Linked DNA regions of Homo sapiens: regions 2 and 3 are each linked to region 1. Evidence: promoter capture Hi-C in 16 types of primary human blood cells and fetal thymus (Javierre and others, 2016). All regions are on one chromosome and are shown on one strand. The core of a region is centred on a gene start or on the middle of the fragment in contact, and the rest is flanking DNA. Distances in the headings are between cores, read along the strand shown.

Evidence for each region. Contacts are between HindIII fragments. The CHiCAGO score rates a contact against its expected background, and 5 or more counts as called.
Region 2: a fragment that was not itself captured here is called in contact with the fragment with the promoter of PPP1R36 in region 1 in 1 of 17 cell types (M1 macrophages); the score reaches 5.8 in M1 macrophages.
Region 3: a fragment that was not itself captured here is called in contact with the fragment with the promoter of PPP1R36 in region 1 in 1 of 17 cell types (M1 macrophages); the score reaches 5.1 in M1 macrophages.

What each region holds. Positions count from the first base shown.
Region 1 is chr14:64,548,223-64,552,605 of GRCh38, forward strand. It overlaps PPP1R36 (protein phosphatase 1 regulatory subunit 36), which reads left to right and starts at 1,739. Exons shown (of 12, transcript NM_172365.3): 1 at 1,739-1,844; 2 at 2,699-2,763. The coding sequence starts at 1,776. RefSeq lists a silencer at 1,605-1,894. The HindIII fragment of the contact is 10,629 bases long and covers 1-4,383 here.
Region 2 is chr14:64,901,598-64,905,980 of GRCh38, forward strand. LOC105370534 (a long non-coding RNA gene) reads right to left here and starts at 531. Exons shown (of 3, transcript XR_943942.3): 1 at 475-531. The HindIII fragment of the contact is 251 bases long and covers 2,461-2,711 here.
Region 3 is chr14:64,880,030-64,884,412 of GRCh38, forward strand. LOC105370534 (a long non-coding RNA gene) reads right to left here. Exons shown (of 3, transcript XR_943942.3): 3 at 852-1,359. Among named protein-coding and RNA genes, the nearest start is that of SPTB, 2.3 kb to the left of the region's middle. RefSeq lists silencers at 1-158, 209-348, 419-498. The HindIII fragment of the contact is 1,268 bases long and covers 1,655-2,922 here.

The sequences.
Region 1 (4,383 bases), core at 489-2,988:
ATCAAATATTTAGAAGTTACCTTCATCCCTACTAAATATCATCAATTGTGTTTATTCTTCTTTACAGGGACAATCATATTTCCAGTTTTGGTTGTGAGTTTCTAATGTCATTTAAAAAGAAACCTAACTGGTGAAAAATGTACCTTAGGAAATCGGTGGGTCACTTTTTAAAATAAGTACTGTAATGATTAAGAGATGTAAAAACAATCTTTTCTTCCTCCTTTTGTTTGGGGTAAAGTGATAGAGAAGTATAAGATTGTCCCTTCAGAGTTACTGAAACTTTCCTTTAAATATTATGTCCCTCTATCACATGCGAAATAACTTCTCCTTTAATTTTTAAGTAGTTATTGTTTTGGGCTCTCAACTTTTATTTTTACCTAAGTTTTGTACATTAGACAGCCTAAGTTTATTCTGTGATAAGATATATAGATCTTAAGTTTTCTATCAGCACTTCTCCACACATTATTGGGATGAACTGAAGAGGTTTACTGACCACTAGTGTGGTCTTCCCGGTAATGATTATGTAGTGATTGGATGCCATCCAGATTCCTTGGTCTGTCTGCATCTTTTCTTGAGCTTTACCTCATTATTTCCCTGTCCTGTCCACCCCAAGTTATGTTCGCTACTTGGTGAAAAGCTCTTGGCATATGGGATAGTCTCCTTTTCAAGCGTGTCATCTTGTAGTAAGAAAGCCTTGCCTGCGGCCAGTATATAAGTGGGTTTCCATATACCTGGACCAACTGAACAGCTGCCAGAATGGACTCAAGTGAGCAGAACATGAATCTAGATGATTACTATTTAATCACTGTAGCCAGTGATTGTGTATTACCAAGTAGTGAGACTGGGAGGGTGGGAATAGAAGAAGCAGTGGGATGACTACTGACATAACTTAAAAGTTAATGGGAGTATATATCCACTACTTATGAGCCTCTCATACCAATTAAGCTGTGGTGATACAAAAGAATATACTAGGCATTCCCAATCATGTTGCATCATCTAGCATTGCTCACTTAGAGCTGGGAGGAAAAAAATCAGCCAGAATCAGCATTATCAACTCCGTTGCAAGAAGGAATTACAAGACACATGATTTGAAAAGTGTAAATGTAAAAATATCAATTGAATACCCATTGACACTAAGCAAGTTTCTTTGTTTTTGAGCAACACTAATTTTGAGTACTTAAGACTGGTGCTTTACACACACCACTCCAAAAATCCACATAACCCCTGATTTGGTGTTTTCAGAAGAAAGATCAGAATAGTCTTGTCCTAGATTCCACAGCTTGTTAAGCAGCACAACTGTTATGAAAACCTTATTTCCGTACCCATGTTCTCTTCCACGAGGCTACCCTGCTTCCCCACCTCAACCCTGCTCTCCCCATCAACCTAGGTTCATCCTGGATTTGAACTTAATAATAGTGCTAATCATGAAAGTTAGGAAGAAATGGATCTTTCTTCCCTATAGGACTGAATGTAGTTACTCCAATTAAAACAGTAAAGTGAATAACTTCATGAAGTTCAAGGTTGGAATGCCATGAAGAATTATGCCCTGGGCGGCTTTACAATGGATAGGCCAATACGTCGCCACGGCTTTTAAGACTGGGAAACGGGGCACCAGGCTGGGCTTTAGAAATCGCTGGAGAAGCCTGGGTGCGGCCGCAGCCCGCGCGGCCTAGGACGGAAGCGACGCCCCGCCCCGCTCCGCGCCCCGGGCAGCCGTGTGCAGGCGCCTGCGGGCGGTATCCTCGGCGACGCCGTATGGCTTCCAGGGCGAGGCCATGTACCGGGTGCCCGAGTTTTATGCGAGGAGGAAGCGGTTAGGTGGGCAGACCCCTTACTTGATGGATGTAAGTGCAGCCTTGGTCGCCCCCATACCCGGGCTGGGCGCAAGGCGGGCCCTGCTGCCCCCAACCGGCGCCGCGCCCCTCGCCCTCCTCCAGAGGCGGGTCGTCGCCTTCGCCCCGGGCTGGCGGTTCTCAAAGACACCTGGCCATATTTGCCTAGAAAAAAAAAAAACTCTGGTGTATTTGACAGATGGTCAGAATTGAATTCTGGCTCCCTGCGCAGGTAGTTAGATATTTACGAAATCCCACCTCACCACCTCTAATTGGTTGGTTGCAAAATAGGGAGACCTACTGCGGGGGAAGCAGCCCCGCTCTGGATAGAAAGGCTGGTGGGTGCTAGCTTCCACGGTGAAAAGGGTGTACTTAACTTTTTGCCACTGCCTGTAAAGGGCAGGCTCAGTGTTGGAGCCCGGAAGTCTCCAGAACCAGACAGCTGAGGCTGTCCTGGGTATCAGTTTATTGTCTGAATTTCAATTAATTGGTAGATTGCTATGATGAGCTATATGTAGTCCCAATTTCCTTCCTATCTTTCGCCCTTCCCTTCCTCCGCTGCTTCTTTCCTCTTTTCCTACTTTCCTCCCTTCCTTTCTCCCTCTCCCTCCTTCCTGCCGTTCTACTGAAGCCACACCTAAAATCAATCAAAGCGATAAAATCCTAGCTTCAAGTTTAACGCTTTAGGATTCTACACTCTTACTGAAAGTGTAAAGAGGGACTAGTAGGAACCATTGTTTTTTGTTTCCTTCTTATTACTTAAAAGATGTGTTAGTAAGTAGGAATTATTGTTAAAGGTTTATTGTGGCATATGGATTGTAAATTGAGCTTTTAATTATTTTTGCTGCAATCATTTCGTTTTACAGCAGTTGGGATTACGATTAGGGATGTGGTACTGGAAAGATGAAACCAGAACTCTTGAATTCAGAAGGTAAAATTTAACAACACTTTATTAGAGTTTTTATAAAAATTACATGTGCCTGGGGGAAAAAAAAGCAACAGAAGAGTATAGAGAATAAATACCCACTGAACCTTTGCCATCTGGAAGGAAACAATCATTTCAGTGAACAGCCTTTCTCTGAACGCTTACCAGCTGCTTCACATGGACCAGACACTGTGCTAATGTTTACCAACTCTTTGAAACAGCTGCATGTTAACCAATTTACAGATGAAGAAACTGAGGTTTCAAAGGGTTCAGCGACTTGAGGAAAATTAAGTGACTTAGCCCAATCACACAGCTCAGAGGTGACTAAGATTATTTAAATGTAGGTCTGTTTGATTTACAGAGTCCATGTTTTTAATTATAAAATTGCCTTTTTGAGTTAGAGAAATATAGTTAACATTAATGGGAACATATTATATCTGCTGCAATAGATGGTGAATCTCACAAGGTAAAATTACTAAATTAGAAAAAACTGATTCTAATCTCTATGAAAAAAGACACTGACTCTTACAAGTGTATAGCTAAATTAATACTAGACACTATCTGTTGTGCACTGATTGTGTGCCAGATATTTGCATATTTTTCCAATTCTTAAAACAACTGTGGAAAGTGAACATTAATGTCCTCATTTTATAGATGAAGAAACAAGGCTCAGGGAGATTAAGCAACTGAACCAAAGTCATACAGCCAGTAAGTAGCAGAACTGATAGTTTGAACCAAGATTTGTCTAATGCTAAAGCCCTTTTCATGTACTCGCTGTCTCCCTCAACTAGACAGTAAGCTCCTCAGTGGCAGGAACTATCTTATTCATCCTCAGGTCTCTGGAGCCAGCTACAGAACTTCTTCAGTAGGTACTCAACAAATATTTATTGAGCATGTTCAAAGAATCTGCTAGATTCAAGCAGAGGAAGAATAGATGCAGGTGATCCATTAGAAGACTAGTTGTAGGATTACAGATAATTATACAAGTAAGCAATAGCGAGAGTTAGAATTAACTCCAGGTTGGTAAAAATAGAAAGGCAAAGGACTAAGAAATACTTAAGAGAGGATTGACAGGATGTTTGGATAGGATTGATAGGATGTGGGGATTGGATGTGAAGGGAGAGGGAAAAGCAGTTGTTTAGATTGGCTCCTAGGTGTCTGACTTGGGTGATCAGGTGGCTGGGATTGCCCTTCACCCATATACAGCATTGAAGTGACAAAACTGGTGGCTGGGTGTGGTGGCTCAAGCCTGTAATCCCAGCACTTTGGGAGGCTGAGGCGGGCAGATCACCTGAGGTCGGGAGTTTGAGACCAGCCTGGCCAACATGGTGAAATCCTATCTCTAATAAAAATACAAAAATTAGCCGGGCGTGATGGCGGGCACCTGTAATCCCAGCTACTTGGGAGGCTGAGACAGGAGAATTGCTGGAATCTGGAAAGCAGAGGTTGCAGTGAGCCAAGATTGAGCCACTGCGCTCCAGCCTGGGCGACAGAGAGAGACTCCATCTCAAAAATAAATAAATAAATAACATGACAAAACTGGCCATGTTTCAGGTTGCTATGACTTGTTCACATTAATACGTCTTGGGCTGTTGGACAAATGGGGGCTGGAGGTCAGGAAAGGAG
Region 2 (4,383 bases), core at 1,336-3,835, 350 kb after region 1:
TCCTCAAGATAGTAAATCATCCGAGTATAAATTATGTATTCTCTCTGTGTGTTCTCCTGGTGCCTGGCCAGCGTCTTACACATAATATACACTAAAAGTTGTTTGTTCATCATGATGATGTCTTTACTCTGTTGTTTAGGAATGAAACATGGGTTAGGAATAAACCTTCAAATCAGAAAATTCACTACCCAATTTTCCTTCTGGCAAAAAGACAAAAACCTCTATGTCCCCAGAAACAGATAGTGACATCAAAAAATGTCCTCAAGATTTTGCTGAGGACTGGATTGAGGCCTCTGGCACAAGGCTCTGCCCTGTTGCCTTGTTGCTGAATAATGTCATTCGTCTGTATCTTGACGCATCCTCTTTGCATTGCTTTGTCACACAGCAGAAAGATAACAGCCCCAACCAGAGGACTTACAGAAATCAAATCAAAATAAAATTATTTCTAAGGAAATGCTGTGGTGGTTAACTTACCTGAAACCAAATGCTTGGAAGTCTTGACTTGCTTGACTTATTTTGCTTAATTAACACCTGGCCCCAGTTCAGCATTATCCCTGCTCAACCACCAGGAACTAAAGAAAGAGAAGGAAGAAGATCTAAAAACCAAAAGAAAGACAGCAGTCATGAGAGCGAACGCTCTGAAAATGAACTAGAACACAAACTAAAAAACGAAAGACATGTGGGTAAGAGATAATTAGGACAGAATCATCTCTCAGGAGTAAACACTTAACAAAATAATGCAACAAAAGAGTAGCAGGTCAGAATCACATGGGCGTGTGAGTCGATGTTGAAAAGCCCCAGAAGGGAACACCATTTTGTTCAAACTACTGACAGCTTGGGCCTTTTTAAAATTCCTCCTACCAAATAGGTGATGATAGTAGCATTCATTGATTTGTACATGGATGATATAAGGATGTTTCCCTTTGACTACTCCTCTAAAATTTGGTTCTCAGAGAGAGATTTCACCTGTAAATGTCTGGTCTAGCATTTTTGCTTGTATCTGCGAGAGTCTCCGAGCCCCTCATAACATCAGTAGTCTTAATACGCACAATAATCTGTCTAGAGATTCTCTAAATATTCTCAAGTTTGATAAAGAGCTTCTTAGAGTCTGAGCAACGTAATGAGAACTTGTCTCTACTAAAAACAACAACAACAACAACAACAACAACAATTAGCCAGGCAAAGTGGTGTGCACCTGTAATCCTAGCTACTCAGGAGGCTAAGGCTGGAGGATGGCTTGAGCCCGGGAGGCAGAAGTTGCAGTGTGCCGAGATCACGCCACTGCACTCCAGTTTGGGCAACAGTGAGGGAACATCACACACACACACACACACACACACACACACACACACACATACGGCTCATTAGAAAAGATAAAAGATGGCCAGGTGCGGTGGCTCACATCTGTAATCCTAGCACTTTAGGAGACTGAGGCGGGCGAATCACCTGAGGTCAGGAGTTCGAGACCAGCCTGGCCAACATGGCAAAACCCTGTCTCTACTAAAAATACAAAAATTAGCTGGGCGTGGTGGCCCACATCTATAATCCCAGCTACTTGGGAGGCTGAGGCAGGAGAATTGCTTGAACCTGGGAGGCAGAGGTTGCAATAAGCCGAGATCATGCCACTGCACTCCAGCCTGAGCAAAAGAGTGAAACTCCATCTCAAAAAAAAAAAAAAAAAAAAAAAGATAAAAGATGACTCTTAACACTTCCTTCTACTTATGATCTTTTAATACCTGGACTTCTCTGGAATTATTGGATATATTGACCTCTTGGAGTTCCCAGTTCTTCCTTTGGTTCTTTTTAACTTGAATGAAGTCATCACTTGCCTTGGAAGATTGAAGTCAGGAATAGGCAACTTAAATAGTAGATGTGCCACGAAAGTGTATTTTCTATCTCATTTGTCCTATCATTCCGCTTCCTTTTCCCTTTATCTCTCATTCCCTTCTTTCTACTTGTGATTTTCTTTCACCCTTTCCCTCTACTCCCAATCTTTCCTTGAGTATAGTTAGAGCCCTTGGTGGCAGGTAGGGTCGAACAGTGTTGATTTAAGCATTGATCTTAGATGCAAAGGAGTATATTAAGTGACTTCTTAAGACTTTTCTTAACTCTGGGATTCGGTTGCAGTTAATTACCATCCCTTGATTACTAGCCACTTGTTCTTACATCTTTATTAGGTCCATTGGAATCATCTTCATCATAGCTAACATTTATGGAATACTTAATACATATGTCAGACCGTGTGTAATGTGGATTCTCTCCTTTAATTCTCACAGCAACTCCATGAAGAAGGTGCATTCCCATTTTGCAAATGAGGGAAAGGGAACAGAGAAGTTAGTACCTTTCCCACAGTGTTTCATCACGGCTAATAAGTCACAGAGCCGGGCTGCGAGTCCACATTTGTATGTCTCCATACCACCACTTTGGTAGAAAATGTGATCCTGGTATATGGTAGGAAGAAGCTTGAGCAATTTAAAATCCATTATACAACCTTCATAAGCGCTGGGCCGAGGCATAACTATGAAGCCAATATCCCCTGACTAAAGGGTCAAAACTTTATCCTCTTCATGAAAGGATGTGACATTACTTAGATCAATGCAACCTCCCCTATGTACCACCCCTTACAAACTTGTTTCTCAGCATTTCTGCACTTTTGCACATGTTGGTCCTTGTGTCGGGGGAACACCCTGCCCAACATTCCCTAATGTCTAAGCTTAAAGAGTCTGCGGAGGGATCAACACTTCTGGAAAATCATTGCTGAGACTGTGTCCTCTCCTCTCTCTGACCTCTCCCAGGCTGCCCTTTATCTGGGCCCCAGGAGCATCCCGAAGAGCAGTTATTACACTGTATTGTGATCACTGGTTTTTCTTGCCTTGCCCCCTGACTGTGAAAGGTGGGCATGAGGCAGATACCCCAAACATTATATGAGTGAAATTGAATTCCTGAGCTTTAATATCATCATATTACTTCTTCCAGGTATATTTACATTTTGAGCACCATTCTGAATTTTGAAATGAAATGCTCTCTGATGTAGACACCTTGCCTGTGAAGGGTCACTACCTTCCTTCAGCCCAAGTTGACAAAAACCAGTATGTATGTATGTATGTATGTATGTATGTATGTATGTATGTATGTATTTAGAGGCAAGGTCTCTGTTTTCCAGGCTGGAGTGCAATGGTGCAATCAAAGCTCGCTGCAGTATCGACCTCCAAGGCTCAAGTGATCCTCCCACCTCAGCCTCCCAAGTAGCTGGGATTACAGGCACACGCCCCCACACCCACCGCCCAGTTAATTTTTGTATTTTTTGTAAAGACGGAGTCTTGCCATGTTGCCCAGGCTAGTCCTGAACTTCTGAGCTCAAGTGATCCTCCTGCCTTGGCCTCCCAAAATGCTGGGATTACAGGCATGAGCCATCACACCCAGCTGGATCCAATTATTTATAAAAGAGATACATAAAATAGTGTATAGAACCAATTGAAGGCCGGGTGTGATGGCTCACACCTGTAATCCCAACACTTTGGGAGGCTGAGGCAGGTGGATCACCTGAGGTCAGGAGTTCAAGACCAGCCTGACCACCATGGTGAAACCCCATCTCTACTAAATGTAAAAAATTAGACCGGTGTGGTGGCACATGCCTGTAATCCTAGCTACTTGGGAGGCTGAGGCAGGAGAATCGCTTGAACCTGGGAAGCAGAGGTTGCAGTGAGCCGAGATTGCGCCATTGGACTCCAGCCTGAGCAACAAGAGTGAAACTCCGTCTCAAAAAAAAAAAAAAAAAAGAACCAATTGAAGTCAGGAGGCTGTTGCTAAACTTCCAGGAATGAAGTAACAAACTGCTAAGTTTATAGGTCATTTCCTAGAGAACAAGGAGGTGTTAAATTGGATGATATTAGGGCATGTCCTTCTTGTTGAGTCATCCATGTCTTAGGCAGAATCTTTCCTCTGGTGGGCACAGAATGAAGACATGATTTAGCAATTAATTTATTGGTAATTTATTAGAACAAAAGGTATTATTCTCTAACCAAAACTCTCCTAATTTTTGTTTGTTTGTTTTCTTTCTCAAATTTCAAAACCATTGAAAGCAAAGACCTGGAGTGAACAGAGCAAAATCCAGATGAGACAGGTGGAATGGTAACTGCCTTTGGCTATGGAATTTGGAGTAAGGTGGTGGGAAGGGTGAAACTGTGTGTTCAGCTTTTGTAATCAATCAAAAAACACTTACTGAGCACTTATGTGTCAGGTATAATGCTAAATCCTGGGAAACAAGCATGATTCTCAAGTTTGCAGTCAAGAGCTGACTGCGCATACTATAATAGGGGAATTAATAAACTGTTATTGTAGGTACTTGGAAAGGGATACTAATAGGCAATCTTTATGGAGGAG
Region 3 (4,383 bases), core at 1,039-3,538, 330 kb after region 1:
CAGCCTCCCGCAGCGCCAAGCCCAGCCCCCGCCTTCCCCACCCACTCACGCACCTGCCAATCAGCCTCCGCGCCTGGGGGCACCTGCCGGGCCTCAGCCCGGCTCCTGGAACCCGCCTCTGCCTCCCCGCCCGCCGCTGAGCCTGGGGCGCCTCCATCGTCGTTCATTGCCCCTAACCCCGCGCCACCCCGAGCCCCCTGAGGCGGGAAGGGGGTTGGACTCTAGCTCGGGCCTAATTCGTGCGCCCGGAGAGGCAAGCCTGGTGGCGAAAATGAGCCCTCCAGCCTTTCCCGCCCTGCATCCCCACTGCACACAGTTCAGTTTTTAAAATATATGAAAAGACATTTAGGCCATAGGGTGGGCGCGGCGGGTACCCGGGAGGTGAACCCCCGCCGTGGCGGGTTTGGGAGGGACAGATTGTTCCCGGGGGCTGGTGCATTAGAAAGCGCGCTCCCGGGCGGGCTTCTCTCGGCTGGCGGTGGGAGGGCAGGGGGCGGGCACTGGGCCCGAGGGCCCCACCCCCAGCCCGAGCTCAGTGTCGCTGTTTCTGCCCGAAAACCTAGTGTAATCAGGACGAACCAGGCAAAGCTGGCGGCGCGCAGCCTGCAGTCCCAAGGAGCTCGCACATTGTAGGGACTGTAATCAACAGGCAGGCTGCCACACCTGCCCACTGGCACCTCCTGGCCGGCCCGGGTCTCCGGGCGAGTGGGGGTGCCTCACTACAAGCCTGGATGAGGCGCGGCGCAGCAGGCCAGAGGAAATACTAGAACCGATGGTGCCAAAAAGGCATCTCCGAGTTGCCCCCGGAGAGAAACTCAATAGAACACCGGCAGCTTGCAAGGCAGTACATTTTCTTGACTTTCTAACGATCAAGGTCATTGTTCAGTAAGGTTTACGTGTACGCCTTGAGGTAGCTTTCATCTCTTTTCTCCACCTGCGGTGCCTGGGATGATTTCTCACCAGCTATCAACGCAGGTAATCTCAGGTATTATGGAAATGGCCGTGGAGATTAAAAGCGCATAGATGCAGAAGAAGTTTTAACTTTTACTGATGCTGCCTGGTGTTCTTAACAAGGGAACAGTCTTACTCCTGAGTTATTTGCTTGGGATTATAATTGTGCTGTTTTCCAGAATTCACCCAGGAAAGGGGTGTTTGCCAGATGTTCGAGTTTAGTTTATATATTGAACATATGCAAAGATACTTCACTTCCTGCTGCAGTCCCACTTCTTGAGGGTGGGTATTTAGACACTGAGATGTGCTGAGTGGGACAAACGCCCCAGGTATTACAGAGCCACAGAATTCTTCACTCCACCCTCCTCTTGGCTGGATCCTTATTACAGCTCAATTTTCCAAGAGACACTAGTAATATGGGAAAGAGGATACAAAAACATTCATGGTCATCGATAGATTCGCAGTGATCCCCTCCTCCCCTTTGTTGACAACATTTAAGAATGCATTTTTCTATTACTGAGTTAAAAAGAGAAAGTTCTGTTTTGTGAAAAAAAATGTTTAAAAGTCAAATTCTGGCAAGGAAAGCTCAAGAAAAACAGGCCAACTTCAAAAGCTGAGACTATTATATATCTCAAGAAGAAATCCTTCATCTATTTTTGTTAGAAAAAAATGGAGGGAAATTATGTATTTATGGTTTTTTAAAAGCTTGTATGAATAAACTTATTAGATAAATTCATGGTTCTCTAGAATGGTGGTTCTGCAGCTACGTAATTATATACTATGCAAGCCAGATAATTCCTTAGCTATAGGTCTGTGGCACTGAACTGAATAGTTGCATACATATTTTTCTTTGTAGCCTTAAAATTTATAATTTTCAACCATAAGAAAAAATTAATATGATAAAACTCCAAATCAGCAGACAGATTACCCCAACATTTTACAAACCAGCTCAGCTGCTTTAGTTATCTCCACTTTAGCTGAAAGCTAAATAATTCAATACAACCTCATTTGCTACAGAGCATGTTATCCTGACAGCATCCCCAAATGCTTTACAGCTAATAGAGTTACAGTGAAATGATAAATCAGAACTGAGGAAGAGAGGAAATTTAGGCTTGCAGTGAGGAAAGGGCATTGTCAAATAATAGGGAAAGGGGAACAGATCTCTGTGGCCAGGAATGAGAAATTGGGAGAATAAAAGAAGGGAGAAAGGTTGGGCATGGTGACTCACACCTGTAATCCCAGTACTTTGGGAGGCCGAGGCAGGCGGATCACTTGAGGTCAGGAGTTCAAGACAAGCCTGGCCAACATGGCAAAACCCTATCTCTACTAAAAACACAAAAATTAGCTGGGTGTGGTGGTGCGCACCTGTAATCCCAGCTACTTGGGAAGCTGAGGCAGGAGAATCACTTGAACCTGGGAGGCATAGGCTGCAGTGAGCCAAGATCACGCCACTGCACTCCCACCTGGGTGACAAAGCAAGACTCTGTTTCAAAAAAAAAAAAAAAAAAAGAAGGGAGAAGGAAACACATACATATGTTCGTTATCAAGGTCATCATTGTGGGCAATAGGGATCACGTCTGGAGGGACCTCCTCAGAAGAGTATAGAATACCTCTTGGAATTGTCTATGTGAAGGATAGGAGATTAACCCTCATCCTGGTTGGACAAAGGACTGCCCCCACTGGTCTCCCACCCATGTTGAAAACCTACACTTCCGAGCTACCCAGCAAGCTCCACATAGGCAGTCTGCAGATTTGGAAGAGTTCTGGGGCCAGAAGAGAAGGTGTGCATTTGAGAATAGATGTTGACAGCCAGAGAGTGGGGGGTAAACCTTCACAGAACTGTCTACTCAGGTCTAGCTGAAACCAACAGGTGAGGCCAAGAAGATATAAGTTGAGACTTATGTTAGAATCATCTAACATAAGAGGGAACTTTCACTTTCCATTTCTGTAGTCTTTGAGTTTTTCACAATAAGCTTGTATTGTTTAATAATAAGTAGAGATGATAAATAAATTAAAAAGTAAAGATTGGATGGAGATGGTGGATTGAATACACGCATTTAGCTTCTCTTCTACCCCAAATTTCATTAGAAGATATGTCTGAAACAGGCATCTAAAAGCACAGGAAAATAAGGAAAAGGGGATCAGTGTTCCAACAATGTTCAAGAAATCCAGAGATACAGAAAAGATGCAAGATCTGATTCACAGAGAAACAAAATCAGAGGAAACCAAAACAGATTCAGGAGGAGCAATAGTTTAGGGAAGTTGCAAGCAATAGTTAAAGGATACAAGAGGAGGAGGGGCCCTGAGACAGAATAATTCACTTAGGAGCCTCCTCTGTCCTGCTCACATTAAATATCAGGTGTTTGCCTGCAGGACTTAAAAAAAAAGTTAATGGGGATCCTGGGACCCAAGGGGCAGAGCTCAGGGATCTAGTGACCCCAAGAAATGACAGAAACCATTCACTCTCTTGGGATAGCATGTCCTGACCCTTCTTCACAGCCCCTGAAGATAGGCTATGATAAGCAGAAAGAGGAGACAAGCCCATTCCCACATTAAGGGATGATAGGACAACCACCAAATATCTTATGGGGAGAGGGGAACCAATACCATGAAAGAGAAGCACCAAACCCAACTAATAGAAGGAAATAATATCAGAGGAAACTAAGTTAATAAAAGGAACAAGATAAATGTTAAATAATTTAATTTTAATCAGCAAGTCTTGAAAGGATATTGCATCCACAACAAATAATCAGTGAGAAACCTTAGAAATTTAAAAAGTCATTTCTGATATTGAAAATTCATTAGTTGAGAAGCAGAACAGACCTACTTGAAGGGCAAATTAGTGGAAACAGAAGCCAAAGAAATTTTCCCCAAACACCGGGCAAAAGACAAAGGAGATGGAAAGTATGTGAAAATGGTTGAAAGCCATGTAGGCAAAATCCCCCAAGGTCCAGTATTTGCTTAATGGAAGTTACAAAAGGAAAGAAAAGAGAGTAGAAGAAGGTAATAATGGGAAAGTAGAATAGAAATTCTCAGAGTTGAAGAAAAGCATAAATTTTCAGATTATAAAAACCAACTGAGTTGCCAGCCAGATGATTTTTAAATATAGTTCACAGTTTTATGAACAGTTTTAAAGTTTATGATTTTATTTATAAAACCCAAGACATTGAATAAAAATAAGTCATAAACCAAAAACTATAATAAGCTACACCAACTTGCTTGGCCTTGAATTAAATTGATCCTAAAAATATTTTGAGCTGGATGCGATGGCTCATGCCTGTAATCCCAGCACTTTGGGAGGCTGAGGTGGGAGGATCACCTGAGCCTAGGAGTTCGAAGCAGCAGTGAGCTATGATCACGCCACTGTACTCCAGCTTGGGTGACAGAGCAAGACCCTATCTAAAACAAAAATAAAAACAAAAACAAAAAACT